Regions from separate parts of the Homo sapiens genome. Here region 2 is linked to region 1. Evidence: promoter capture Hi-C in 16 types of primary human blood cells and fetal thymus (Javierre and others, 2016). All regions are on one chromosome and are shown on one strand. Each heading gives the region's core, a stretch centred on a gene start or on the middle of the fragment in contact. The rest is flanking DNA. Distances are from core to core; before and after follow the strand shown. Region 1 holds the start of OR5AU1 (olfactory receptor family 5 subfamily AU member 1). Region 2 overlaps RPGRIP1 (RPGR interacting protein 1).

What was found. The method cuts DNA at HindIII sites, captures the fragments that hold promoters and counts their contacts. A CHiCAGO score of 5 or more calls a contact.
Region 2: a fragment that was not itself captured here is called in contact with the fragment with the promoter of OR5AU1 in region 1 in 1 of 17 cell types (activated CD4 T cells); the score reaches 5.1 in activated CD4 T cells.

The regions. Positions count from the first base shown.
Region 1 is chr14:21,153,773-21,160,210 of GRCh38, reverse strand. OR5AU1 (olfactory receptor family 5 subfamily AU member 1) reads left to right here and starts at 4,148. Exons shown (of 1, transcript NM_001004731.3): 1 at 4,148-5,346. The coding sequence starts at 4,339. The coding sequence ends at 5,274. The HindIII fragment of the contact is 1,266 bases long and covers 3,973-5,238 here.
Region 2 is chr14:21,345,665-21,352,102 of GRCh38, reverse strand. It overlaps RPGRIP1 (RPGR interacting protein 1), which reads right to left. Exons shown (of 25, transcript NM_020366.4): 24 at 3,801-3,931; 25 at 802-999. The coding sequence ends at 887. SUPT16H (SPT16 homolog, facilitates chromatin remodeling subunit) reads left to right here. Exons shown (of 26, transcript NM_007192.4): 26 at 1-627. Among named protein-coding and RNA genes, the nearest start is that of SUPT16H, 35 kb to the left of the region's middle. RefSeq lists an enhancer at 1-119 and a silencer at 2,752-2,931. The HindIII fragment of the contact is 561 bases long and covers 4,555-5,115 here.

The DNA of each region.
Region 1 (6,438 bases), core at 2,899-5,398:
TAAAACGTTGAGTTTTAGGGTGCTTTGTTAAGCAGTAATAAATAAGAAATATTTATTGTGGGGATCATTACAAATGTTGTCTTATTAAATTCAGTCTTATCAACAGGTATATGAGGTGGGTACTATTATTATCCACATTTTACAGGTGAGAAAAATGAGTATCAGCAAAGTTAATAAACTTTCTAGATGTCACCTAGCTAACAAATTGTTAAGCAGGGATTTGACAACAAGCTGTCTGATTTCAAAGCTGTACTGCACATTAAAACAGTTATAATGGTATTCCATATGTACAAAAAATGTAGACAGGAAGATATAAAAAGAGACTGAAAACAAACTTCTGTAGATGAAAACTGCAGTGTCTGATATGAAAACATACACTGGATGAGATTAGCAGCAGATTAGAAAGACTCAAACAACAATATCAACCAACTTGACCTAATTGGCAGTTACAGATAGAACACTCCACTCAACAAAACAGAATATATATTCCTTTCAAGTGGACATAGAACATTTCCCAAGATAGGTCCTATTCTGGGCCTTAAAGTAAGTCTCAATAAATTCAAAAGTATCAAGTCATACAAAATGTATTCTCTGACCATATGCTTTTAAATCAGAAATCAATAACAGAAAGATACCTAGAAAATTCCCAAATATTTGGGAACCACATAACATGCCTCTAACTTTACTATAACCCTGAAGGGCAGGAAGGTCCTCAGCTCTCATCTACAGCACAAATGTACATTGGGTAACTGGCATAGAAGAAAGAAAAACCTGGTTTTCCAGTGTCGAGGAAATACAGATAATCACGTAAGAGTTAAGTTTAGAGTGAAGGTGGAGTAGTGTTTTGGGGCGAATGAGCAGCATATTTGCAGGGATCTGTGTGGATCTAGTCCCCTCATTCCCAGTTTCCCAGCCACTTGTTTCCTCATGGGTAGACTCTCAGAGATGCTAGTAACTTTTCAAACACTTTAATGGGCCTTCATGGGGCTAATTAGTCCCACTTCCTCACCTGCCTTTTAAACTTTAATCAGTGAACACATCCTCCTCCCCAGTGGTGAGCTGCTGGGCTGCCAGGGGAAAAGATGGCTCTGGGGTTGCTCCTGCCAGCACAAGATCAGCTGTGAGGAGCTCACAGGGAGTGGGGCTGCCTCACACCTCTGACAACGTGAAAGACTAAAGTCGGTGACAGGCTCTGATCCCCAGACTCAGTCTATGAATGCAGAGTCTGGCTTTGTCTTTGCTGTGTTTCCATGGAAGACTTGTGTTCTGACCCCTACAGCAACAGCTCTGACATCAAGCCAGGTGCTTTGCTGGAATTACATGGTTTGCTGAAGGACATCTGAAGCTACTTTGAAGGAAGAAATGCTCTGGTGTTAGATTATCATCAGGTAGTAACCCAGATTTCCGGAAATGGTTAACCACAGATAGGTCTTCTGGAGGGAAGAGCATGTCCAGGATGACCATCCTACCCACAGGCTGATTTCCCAGGACACGGACAAATCCAGCAAGCTAGGAAGAGATACGTATATGTGGCTCAGGAAGATCTGTTTGCTCCTGCAAGTACCCCATGGTTTAGTGTTTCTCAGAGTGAGGTTCAGAGACCTCCTGTCTCAGTCAGAATCACCAGACTTTGGGGCCAAGCTATAGACCTATTGGATCAAATTTTCTGTGGGTTGGGACCTGGAATCTGCACATGTAACAAGCTTCTCCTGTGAACCTTGGGCAAGGCAGCTTACTGTTTAAGAACCATTGTTTGGGATCACTGTTGCTCAGGGAATCTCACTGGCTGCTTTTCTTGGCTGCCTGCCCTTCATATCCACATGTGCTCTCACTGTGCTATCCCAGGGATGGGGGCAATGAGTCGGGTATAAACAGAGCTTCTTTCCTATGCCTCCCTCATCCACAGGCCCCAGGCATTTGCTCTCACTCTTATGCACTCCACTCCATAATCCACTCCCATATGATAAGATCATCTTTAAGTTTTCCTCCTACATTTCATTCACAGGTACAAACAATAGCCAATAGAAATAGTGGTAATTCCAGCATCCTTTGAACAACTGTCAGAGATGCCAATTTCTCCATAATCCTTTCCTTGAGTCACTCTATATTCTTAAGAATTTTGAATTTAGTGCAGATTGGTGAAGAGAGATGAAAGAGGAGAGGGGAGCAGAAGAGAGAGTGTGGGTTTAAAGTAAATGATAAATCTGGAGGCTCTGATCAGCTATCCACTGTATTACCCACCACCCTACCCCATCCCATCCCACCACTCCACCCCAGTGTATGCTTCCTGCCTCATCCATACTGTCTGGAGCATTGCACATATTTCTATTTTTCTCTTCTTTTGTTCTTTTAATCAGAGAGATACTTGCAGACCTATTACCTAAATTGAAACAGCCCACCAAGGAAAGAAGATGGGAAGCTGGGTCTGAAAATTCTACTCCACTCCTAATGACCACCTTTCTATTTTCTTAAAGTGCCTGCAAGTTATTTCCACTCTGGGAGTTTTACAGTCATTTATCTGAATTCCTCTAATTTGCCTTGAAGTCGAATTGGCCTTTGTCACCAATGGCGCCAAAGACATTTGCAACCCAAATCTAGGACTGCCCACATTCTACAATAGTGAGATTTATTATAAAATGACAGCTGTTAGAGTAAGGATAGCTGAATGTTACATCTAAGTGACATGAAATAAGTCACAGAATTGCATTCCATGAGTTCTAAAAGCAGTTGCTAATGTTCTGTGTTCAAATTTGCACTTATATTTTGTGTCTCAATTTTATTAGGGCATGTTACCTCTTTGGGCATTTCTAAAAGCCTTTTTCTTGTCACCAGTCACAGTATTCTATCAACACAAATGGTGCCTCATTCCCTGCCTGACAACTAAATTTAGTTATACATATGTCCAGAATCTTCTCCTGCCCAGGTAGTTTGATGATTCTGGAAATTATGTCATTGGAATTCGTCAGAATGTTTGCTTGCTCAATCCAGCTCTTTCCTCTCCAAATTCTCCCAACACTTTTCACAGGTGTGTTATTCGCTTACTCTCCTCAGGGCAGGATGAGGCAGCTCACTTTTGCCCCTTTTTGTCCTACTCAGCCACATCTGTTAGCTTCAAAGTCTTTGTAACTGAGAGTCTTCACCCAAGAGCACAGGGTGCTTAACTGGCTCAGCACCCAGAGGTAACTTGGGAAGACACGTGGTAGAGGAGCCAATGGAACAGAGGAGAGTGTGGTGTTTAGGTGATGCATTCAAGCTTTGTTCACTCTCTAAATAGAAAAGGCATTTTCACAAAGACTCACTCACTTCGTTCCTTTCCTACTGGCCATAACATCCTCTGAGTCCAGGGTGATTTTGTTCTCTGGAAATGATGGGCAGCTTTATGGATGATGAGGAGACTCTCCCGTTGGTGGAGGCTCCCACATGCAGTCTTACACTACCTCCATCTCTCCACACTCTCAGCCCTTGTTACCTTAAGTATTCACATTATTGCCTGGGTAGTGCTGATTTCACAGGGCCAGTTTTATAGCTGACCCATCAGCCATCTACAGCCTCTCTGAAAGCCTGTTTAGTCACGCTTGCATAGCACGTGTGTCTCTGTCTATACTGTTAGGTGGTAGGTTGCTTGCTAAGCTTTGTTGTGGGTTCATCTCATTTATCATGTTTATTTAGGTTTTGGATCTATCTTCTTAGTGAGCATGCTCATAGCTAACCTTCTTTGAACTTCCTCAACGTGCTGGAATTTGTTCAACTTCTCTGCATGAAATAACTCATTGAATTTTTATAATAATCTTTATAGACAGTTGCTATTATCCCTATTTCACAGATGGAAAAATGGAAACTCAGAAAGGTAAAGTAACATTCCCAAGATTACACAGCTAGTTAATGGCAAAGTCCTAACTTTGAACCTTAGCAGTCTGATACCACAGTATGTGTGGCTTAAACACAAAATATACTGTCTGTAGAATATAAGCTTCCCAAGGTCAGGCACTCTTGAATTCCTGATAGGGAGAACACAGAGCTAAGCAAATGGAAAACTATGAATATATACTTGGTGAGTGACTGTTTCATTACTTAGAATTTTTAAGATCCCCAAGACCAATTGTAGATATTTCTCTTATATTTTCCATTGCTGCTTAAGTAATGCTTACCAACTAACCAACCAACCAAGGAGAAAAGATCCTCTCTATGACAGAGTTTCATCTGCAAAGCCAAATGCCCTCAATAAGACTCATCTTCAGAAGGCTGTCCTTAGGCAGAATTAAACCCAGTCAGAGCCCCAGGTGTTCAACCTCATTTATGGTGGTGCCTTCTTTCTCCATCGCAGAGCACTGGAGAAGGATGAAAGGGGCAAACCTGAGCCAAGGGATGGAGTTTGAGCTCTTGGGCCTCACCACTGACCCCCAGCTCCAGAGGCTGCTCTTCGTGGTGTTCCTGGGCATGTACACAGCCACTCTGCTGGGGAACCTGGTCATGTTCCTCCTGATCCATGTGAGTGCCACCCTGCACACACCCATGTACTCCCTCCTGAAGAGCCTCTCCTTCTTGGATTTCTGCTACTCCTCCACGGTTGTGCCCCAGACCCTGGTGAACTTCTTGGCCAAGAGGAAAGTGATCTCTTATTTTGGCTGCATGACTCAGATGTTCTTCTATGCGGGTTTTGCCACCAGTGAGTGCTATCTCATCGCTGCCATGGCCTATGACCGCTATGCCGCTATTTGTAACCCCCTGCTCTACTCAACCATCATGTCTCCTGAGGTCTGTGCCTCGCTGATTGTGGGCTCCTACAGTGCAGGATTCCTCAATTCTCTTATCCACACTGGCTGTATCTTTAGTCTGAAATTCTGCGGTGCTCATGTCGTCACTCACTTCTTCTGTGATGGGCCACCCATCCTGTCCTTGTCTTGTGTAGACACCTCACTGTGTGAGATCCTGCTCTTCATTTTTGCTGGTTTCAACCTTTTGAGCTGCACCCTCACCATCTTGATCTCCTACTTCTTAATTCTCAACACCATCCTGAAAATGAGCTCGGCCCAGGGCAGGTTTAAGGCATTTTCCACCTGTGCATCCCACCTCACTGCCATCTGCCTCTTCTTTGGCACAACACTTTTTATGTACCTGCGCCCCAGGTCCAGCTACTCCTTGACCCAGGACCGCACAGTTGCTGTCATCTACACAGTGGTGATCCCAGTGCTGAACCCCCTCATGTACTCTTTGAGAAACAAGGATGTGAAGAAAGCTTTAATAAAGGTTTGGGGTAGGAAAACAATGGAATGATTTCTCAATGCATTACCACATATCTTTAGAAAGTCAAGGGAACTTTTACCTTAGGTGGTGTCACCCTGAGCACATTCCCATGCCCACCCCTGTGAATATTGGGCATGCCCTCTGGTCTGCAGGTGCTTCTGCATCTACCTGCCACAGAAGAAATGATGGTGTCCTAGAGACTAAGAAGTGAGAAGGGTGTGTCTGCTTGTTGCATAATTCAACCTGTTGGCAAGATTTAGTAATCCATGTTGAGATGCTTCATTCATTTTTCCCAGTTAGTGTATTTCCTTTCCTTTCCCACCCTCCCTCCCTCCCTCCCCACCTCCCTTTCTTCCTTCCTTCCTTCCTTCTTTCCTTCTTTCCTTTCTCTCTCTCTCTGTCTCTCTCTCTCTCTCCACCCCCGAGGCTGGAGCACAGTGGCATGAACATTGCTCATTGCAGCCTCAACCTCCTGGCCTCAAGCGATCCTCCTGCCTCAGCCTCCTGAGTAGCTGGGACTACAGGTGCATGCCACCACACCTGGCTAAATTCCTGATAGGGAGAACACAGAGCTAAGCAAATGGAAAACTATGAATATATATTTGGTGAGTGACTGTTTCATTACTTAGAATTTTTAAGATCCCCAAGACCAAATTGTGGATATTGCTCTTATATTTTCCATTGCTGCTCAGGTAATGCTTGTCAGCTAACCAACCAGCCAACCAAGGAGAGAAGACCCTCTCTATGACAGAGTTTCATCTACAAAGCCAAATGCCCTAAATAAGACTCATCTTCAGAGGGCTATTTTTAATTTCTGTAGAGATGGGGTCTCCCTATGTTGCCCAGGCTGGTCTTGCACTCTTGAGCTCAAGTGATTCTCCCACCTTGGCCTCCCGAAGTGCTGGGTTTACAGGCATGAGCCACCATGCTGGCCTGTCATTCTTCTTCTTTTTCTTCTTCTTCTTTTTTTTTTTGAGGCAGAGTTTTGCTCTTGTTGCCCAGGTTGGAGTGCAATGGTGTGATCTCGGCTCACCACAACCTCTGCCTCCCAGGTTCAAGCGATTCTCCTGCCTCAGCCTCCCAAGTAGCTGGGACTACAGGTATGAGCCACCATGTCTGGCTAATTTTGTATTTTTAGTAGAGATGGGGTTTCTCCATGTTGGTCAGGCTGGTCTTGAACTCCTGACCTCAGGT
Region 2 (6,438 bases), core at 3,586-6,085, 190 kb before region 1:
CTGCCTCGTGCAGATTCTGAGGTATATCTGCTGCCTTGGAAGACATAAGAAGCAGTGATACTCCCTGGCTCGGTTATTTTCTCCATACAATGCACACATGGTACAATGATAGAAGGCAAAATTGCCACTGTCTTCTTTTTTTTCTCATATATCTAAGGAAGATATATCAGGTTGTGCCTCATGTACCGCTTCTAGTGAAATGTAGAGGAAGGCTCAAAGGAGTCAACATTTATATCTGGAAGGGACAAGTCATGCCTTGGGCCTAGAATACCCTGATGAGAAAAGAGAAGAGGAAGGGAGGCCATATCTACAACACAGCCTCTCGGCACTGCTGCTCCTTATTTTAACTTTGTCTTGCATTGTCCTGTATTTATCACAGTTTCTGTTGAACAGCTTTTCAAGTATTTGGGGAGTTTATCTTGCCATCCTCCCCTTCTGGTTCTCTGCACCCACCTGTCCCACTGCAGTTCCTTCCGTGCTCTGTGACTTTAAGAGAAGAAGGGGGGAGGGGTCCCGGATTTTATGTTTGTTTGTTTTTTCTCCTTAGCAGTAGGACTTGATATTTTCAATTTTGGAAGAACTAAAAGATGAATAAACTGGGTTTTTTTTGTTGTTTGTTTTTGTAAATTCACCTGTGACCGTTCATTTTCAGTTCTTGAAAGCAAGCCTGCTTCCTGCCTGGTAAAGTGCTAAGGTACTGGAGAAAAATGCCTTTAGCTAGCTAGTTTTACAAATGAAACTTTCATCATTCTAAACTTTCATCATTAGATTGAGAGACACTAGACATCACAGTAAACCAAATTCATGTTATAGCAAGCTAACTTTATAAGAGACTTTTTACTATGGTTCCCTCAGAGACTTTTAGATTGGAATAGCACTTGTTCCTTCATGAAAACAAATCTTCAGTCATCTCCTTGTAAATAGCATGGAGGACAGCAGCTGCTTGAAGGGAAACCTTCAGCCTTCCTATTGGGGTAGCCAGATCTTCAGGGCTAACAACTGTTGGGAAAGGGAAAAAAACAGCATCACTCAGTTGAACACTTTGATACTTGGTATTTGTCAGGTTAGGTACTGGGGATGCTAAATGAATGAAATTACCCATTTCATAAGAGGACTCAATCTAGTGAAGGAGAAAGGAAAATGGTATAGTGTATAGGTGCTATATAATAAATGGAAGCACAAGTTGCTTTGGGGACATAACGAGGCATCTGCACCAGAATGGACAAATTGGAAAGGATTTCTGGAGAAATCACCAGAAAAGTCTTAAGTGGATTTTCCCTGTGCACATACAAATGGCATGGAGGTCAGGAAGAACATAGCATGTTTAGGAATGGGGATAGGAGTGAGTTGGAAAATAGCCCACAAAGATAACGTCACTTGCCTTATGCCAGGCACTACCCTAAGCCCCTTAATCCCTTATTTAAGTGCTTCCTTAATCTTCACAACTCAGTAAGATAGAGACTGCTGTTATTCCCGTTTTATAGATGAGGAAAAAGACTAAGGATCACAGTTGGAAAGATACTAGAGGAATATAATTAGAATCTTATCTAACATTTGAACTTTGTAAACCTTAGGGTCTGAGGAGTATTCCTCAAAAAATGTTTATAATGATCAGTAAGAATAATTTTATACCATGATTCATTAAACAATACATAAAACAAGTTTCACAAGACAATATGTGCTATGTACTCTTAATTCCTGTTTTCTTTTTTTTTTTTTTTTTTTTGGAGACAGAGTCTTGTTCTGTCACCCAGGCTGGAGTGCGGTGACTTGATCTCAGCTCACTGCAACCTCCGCCTCCCGGGTTCAAGCAATTCTGCCTCATCCTTCCGAGTAGCTGGGATTACAGGTGTCCGCCGCCATGCCTGGCTAATTTTTTTTGTATTTTTAGTAGAGATGGGGTTTCACCATATTGGCCAGGCTGGTCTCGAACTCCTGACCTCAGGTGATCCGCCCATCTCGGCATCCCAAAGTGCTGGGATTACAGGCATGAGCCACCTCGCCTGGCCTTTAATTCCTGTTTTCTTTCCCACAGTTTTGGTTTGCATTTTTCAAATTTCCTTGTGATTTACTAATTCAGTTTCACATCCACTAATGGGGTGTGTGTCTGGAAGTTTGAAAAACATTGATCTAGTGGATAATCTTAAGTGTCTGAAGGTCCTAGCAGATAAGATAGGTGACATCCCAGCTATGTAAGGTAATGGGAACAGTGAAGACTGGACAGCGCAGTCCCAACTAAAGGTACTCAAATACAAATGTTTTTAAAACATGCTGATCTATAGCAAACTGTAAAAGGATTTAAGAAGAAGGCAGTGATCAAATGTATTATGTATTTACTATAGTAGATGGAAATGGGGTAGAAGAAACCGGTGGCAGGAAGACCAGTTTAGAAATTATATGGCTGGGCGCGGTGGCTCACGCCTGTAATCCCAGCACTTTGGGAGGCTGAGTGGAGGGCGAATCACATGAGGTTGGGAGTTCGAGACCAGCCTGACCAACATGAAGAAACCCCATCTCTACTAAATATACAAAATTAGCTGGGCGTGGTGGTTCATGCCTGTAATCCCAGCTACTAGGGAGGCTGAGGCAGGAAAATCGCTTGATTAAGAAAGAGGCAGAGGTTGTGGTGAGCTGAGATCGGTCCATTGCACTCCAGCCTGGGCAACAAGAGCAAGACTCCATCTCAAAAAAAAAAAAAAAAAAGAAAGAAATTATAGTAATTATATTTAAGGAGGCCGGGCGCAGTGGTTTATGCCTGTAATGCCAACACTTTGGGAGGCAAAAGAGGGTGGATTGCTTGAGTCCAAGAGTTCGAGACCAGCCTGGGCAACATGGTGAAAGCCCGTCTCTACTAAAAATACAAAAATTAGCTGGCGTGGTGGCAGGTGCCTGTAGTCCCAGCTACCCAGGAGGTTGAGGCAGGAGAATCGCTTTAACCTGGGAGGTGGAGGTTGCAGTGAGCCGAGATCACACCACTGCACTCCAGCCTGGGCAACAGAGAGAGACTCTGTCTCAAAAAAAAAAAAAAAAAAAATTGTAGTAAGGAGAGCATAGTCAATTCACAAGTAGAATGGATAAGACTTAATGACCAGTGAATGTGAGGAAAGAGGAGACAGTTAATGTCTTTTTAAGAGACAAGATGGGCCAGGTGCAGTGGCTCACACCTGCAATCCCAGCACTTTGGGAGGCCAAGGCAAGCAGATCACTTGAGGTCAGGAGTTCGAGACCAGTCTGGCCAACATGGTAAAACACGGTCTCTACTAAAAATACAAAAATTAGCCAGGCATGGTGGCACACCATGGAAGCTGAGGCAGGAAGCTGAGGCAGGAGAACAGCTGGAACCTGGGAGGCAGAGGTTGCAGTGAGCTGAGATCACACCACTGCACTCCAGCCTGGGCGACAGAGTGAGGCTCCATCTCAAAAAAAAAAAAAAAAAAAAGACTGGATGCATGATAACATAAAGAATGGGCATCAGCTGCCTATACGAAAATGCTCAAGAGAGGTCCAAAATTCTGATGTATAAATTTGAAATGAAAATAACTTGTCTTTTTAAAAATCTCCTTTTCAAACATTGTAGATTCAAAATCAATTCTAGTTGTAATCAGGTATATGGGGGTAAAAATACACAACTGACTACTTTAATGTTGGATCCAGAAATAAATACAGTTGTAGGGATAAGATTTCAATCCACTTTGTGTCTTATCAACTTCATAGTAATAATTATGTATTGAAGATAAAATATATTCACTATTAGGATGATTTCCTTGGAAATAATTAGAACTGAAAAAAAAATGACTCACTGTCTAGCTCTTGCTCTAGAATATCTCTTCCTGACTCCAGGATCTGCCACAGTTGAAGATATGCATATCCCACTTCTTCACATTCTTTCTTTTCTTCATCCAGAGGATCACTTACCACTGTAAACTTTAAACTAAAAAGAAATTGCATTTAATTCAGCACTGTTGATACTCTTAATGCTTCAAAAATAAAATAAGGATAAAAGTAATCATAAACAATACAACGTCTTCTCTGAATCACTTTTCCCTTGCCTCCATTTTACAAAATGACAATAAGCAAAAAAGTCAGGAATTGGTATAATTTAAGCAGTAACAGTCCTTTTAGAAGAGGGAACATCATGGGATGTGCCCATGAGTTCAAGACCAGCCTGGGTAACATAGGAACACCCCGTCTCTACAAAAAAAATAAAAAATTAGCCGGGCATGGTGGCACACACCTATAGTCCCAGCTACTTGGAAGGCTGAGGTGAGATCACTTGAGCCCAGGAGGTCGAGGATGCAGTGGGCTGTGTTCATGCCACTGCACTTCAACCTGGGTGACAGAACGAGACCCAGTCTCTAAAAGAAAAAAGAAAAAGAAACCCTGTACTGATTAAGCAGTCACTCCCCATTCTCCTTCCCTAGCTCCTGAACCACTAATCTACTTTCTATCTCTCTGGATTTGCCTATTCTTGATTTTTCATATTTTTATTAATTTTTAAAAGCAAATATTGGTAGCTAATACAGAGTGCCAGGAATAGGACTAAAAATTCAAGCTTTTAAAAGCACAGCTAAATATGATTAAACTGAAACAAAGGAATTACTTTAAAGGGATCCATTCTCAGCCCATTAGGCAATATTCATTTGTAACTATGTTTCTATGTCATTATTGAGAACTTCAACAATGCGAAGTGATAATGCTGACTCCCTCATCCCAATTTGCATAGGAAAGGGATGATAACTAGCATTACAATGTGCCGGGCACAATACCAAGTGCTTTATGTAAACTATATTAGCTCAATTTTATTCTCACAAGAGCCTTCAAATTAAGTAATATCAAAAAGATCAAAGAGCTAGTAAGTCAAAGAGTCTGGAATAAAAACAAGGTTGGTCTGATTACAAAGCCTGCTCTGTCTGCTAGACCATACTGGCAAAAAGAAAGCCAAAGGTAATACCAATCGAATCTAAAATTGAGTAGAAAATGATTATCACTGTAAGGGAATAAAGGAAGAGAGAGTTCTGGAAATGCTGGGGAAAAAAAAGTGAAAGCTAAATTTGACATTAGCACAGAAAGGAAAGAACCAAATCACTTTCCATGTCCAAAAGTTCTCTGTAAGCTTACATCTGTTTAAGCCCACAGTGATGCTGAAGTCAGAGTCACTGTTTATTTCATCTGGCTCCTTTTTCAGTTCTTTCTATGACTAACCAAAGACAAAGTAAAAGCAGATGAAACAAAAGTATTGGGCCTTTCAAAAAGTAATTAAAACACCAGGTCGGGCACAGTGGCTCATGCCTATAATCCCAGCACTTTGGGAGGCAGGGCAGGAGGACTGCTTCAGCCCAGGAGCTGAAAGACCAGCTGGGCAACATAGTGAGATCCTGTCTCTAAAACAAACAAACAAAAAAATTAAAAATAAGATAAAACACCAGCCCCATATTATTTCTTATGCACACACATGCACAGGCGGTATGGATAACAGATTTCAAAAACAAAAACCATATGCCTATTTAAATTTGAATTTCAGCTAAACAACAAATAACTTTTTTTTTTCCTTAGAGGCAGAGTCTGCTTTGTCACCCAGGTTGGAGTGCAGTGGCACAATCTTAGCTCACTGCAACCTCCGCCTCCCAAATTCAAATGATTCTCATGCCTCAGCCTCCTGAGTAGCTAGAATTACCAGCATGTGCCACCATGCCTAGCTGATTTTTTTGTGTTTTTAGTAGAGATGGGGTTTCACCATGTCGGCCAGGCTGGTCTCAAACTCCTGGCCTCAAGTGATCTGCCCGCCTCAGCCTCCCAAAGTGCTGGGATTACAGATGTGAGCCACTGCACCCGACCAAATAATTTTTTTTTGGGTATGTCCCACATTTTATCTGGAAACTCTGAAAGGAGGCCTTCTTCAGATTATTGGAATAATAAGGACAACCAGCTTTCCTAAAACTTTAAAGGAGATCTAAAATTCACTTAGTTATGTCAACATCAAAAAATTCCTGTTGACCAGGTGTGGTCACTCACGCCTGTAATCCCAACACTTTGGGAGTCTGAGGCAGAAGGATCACCTGGGGTTGGGATCAGCCTGGCCAACATGGCAAAACCCTGTCTCTACTAAAAATACAAAAATTAGCCAGGCAAGTGGCGTGCACCTGTCATCCCAGCTACTTGGGAGGCTCAGGCAGAAGAATCGCTTGAACCCAGGAGGTGGAGGTTGCAGTGAGCCAAGATTGTACCACTGCACTCCAGCCTGGACAACAGAGTGAGACACTGTCTCAAAAAAAAGAAGAATGTCAACACTTTTTGTTATTCCATTTGGGCATTGTCAATATTCAAGTAAACTGCTGCTACAAAAAAAGGGCCCATCAGGCTGGCATGGGTGAGAAATGAACTAAACCTATAAGACTATGGGCTGGACACGGTGGCTCACGCCTGTAATCCCAGCACTCT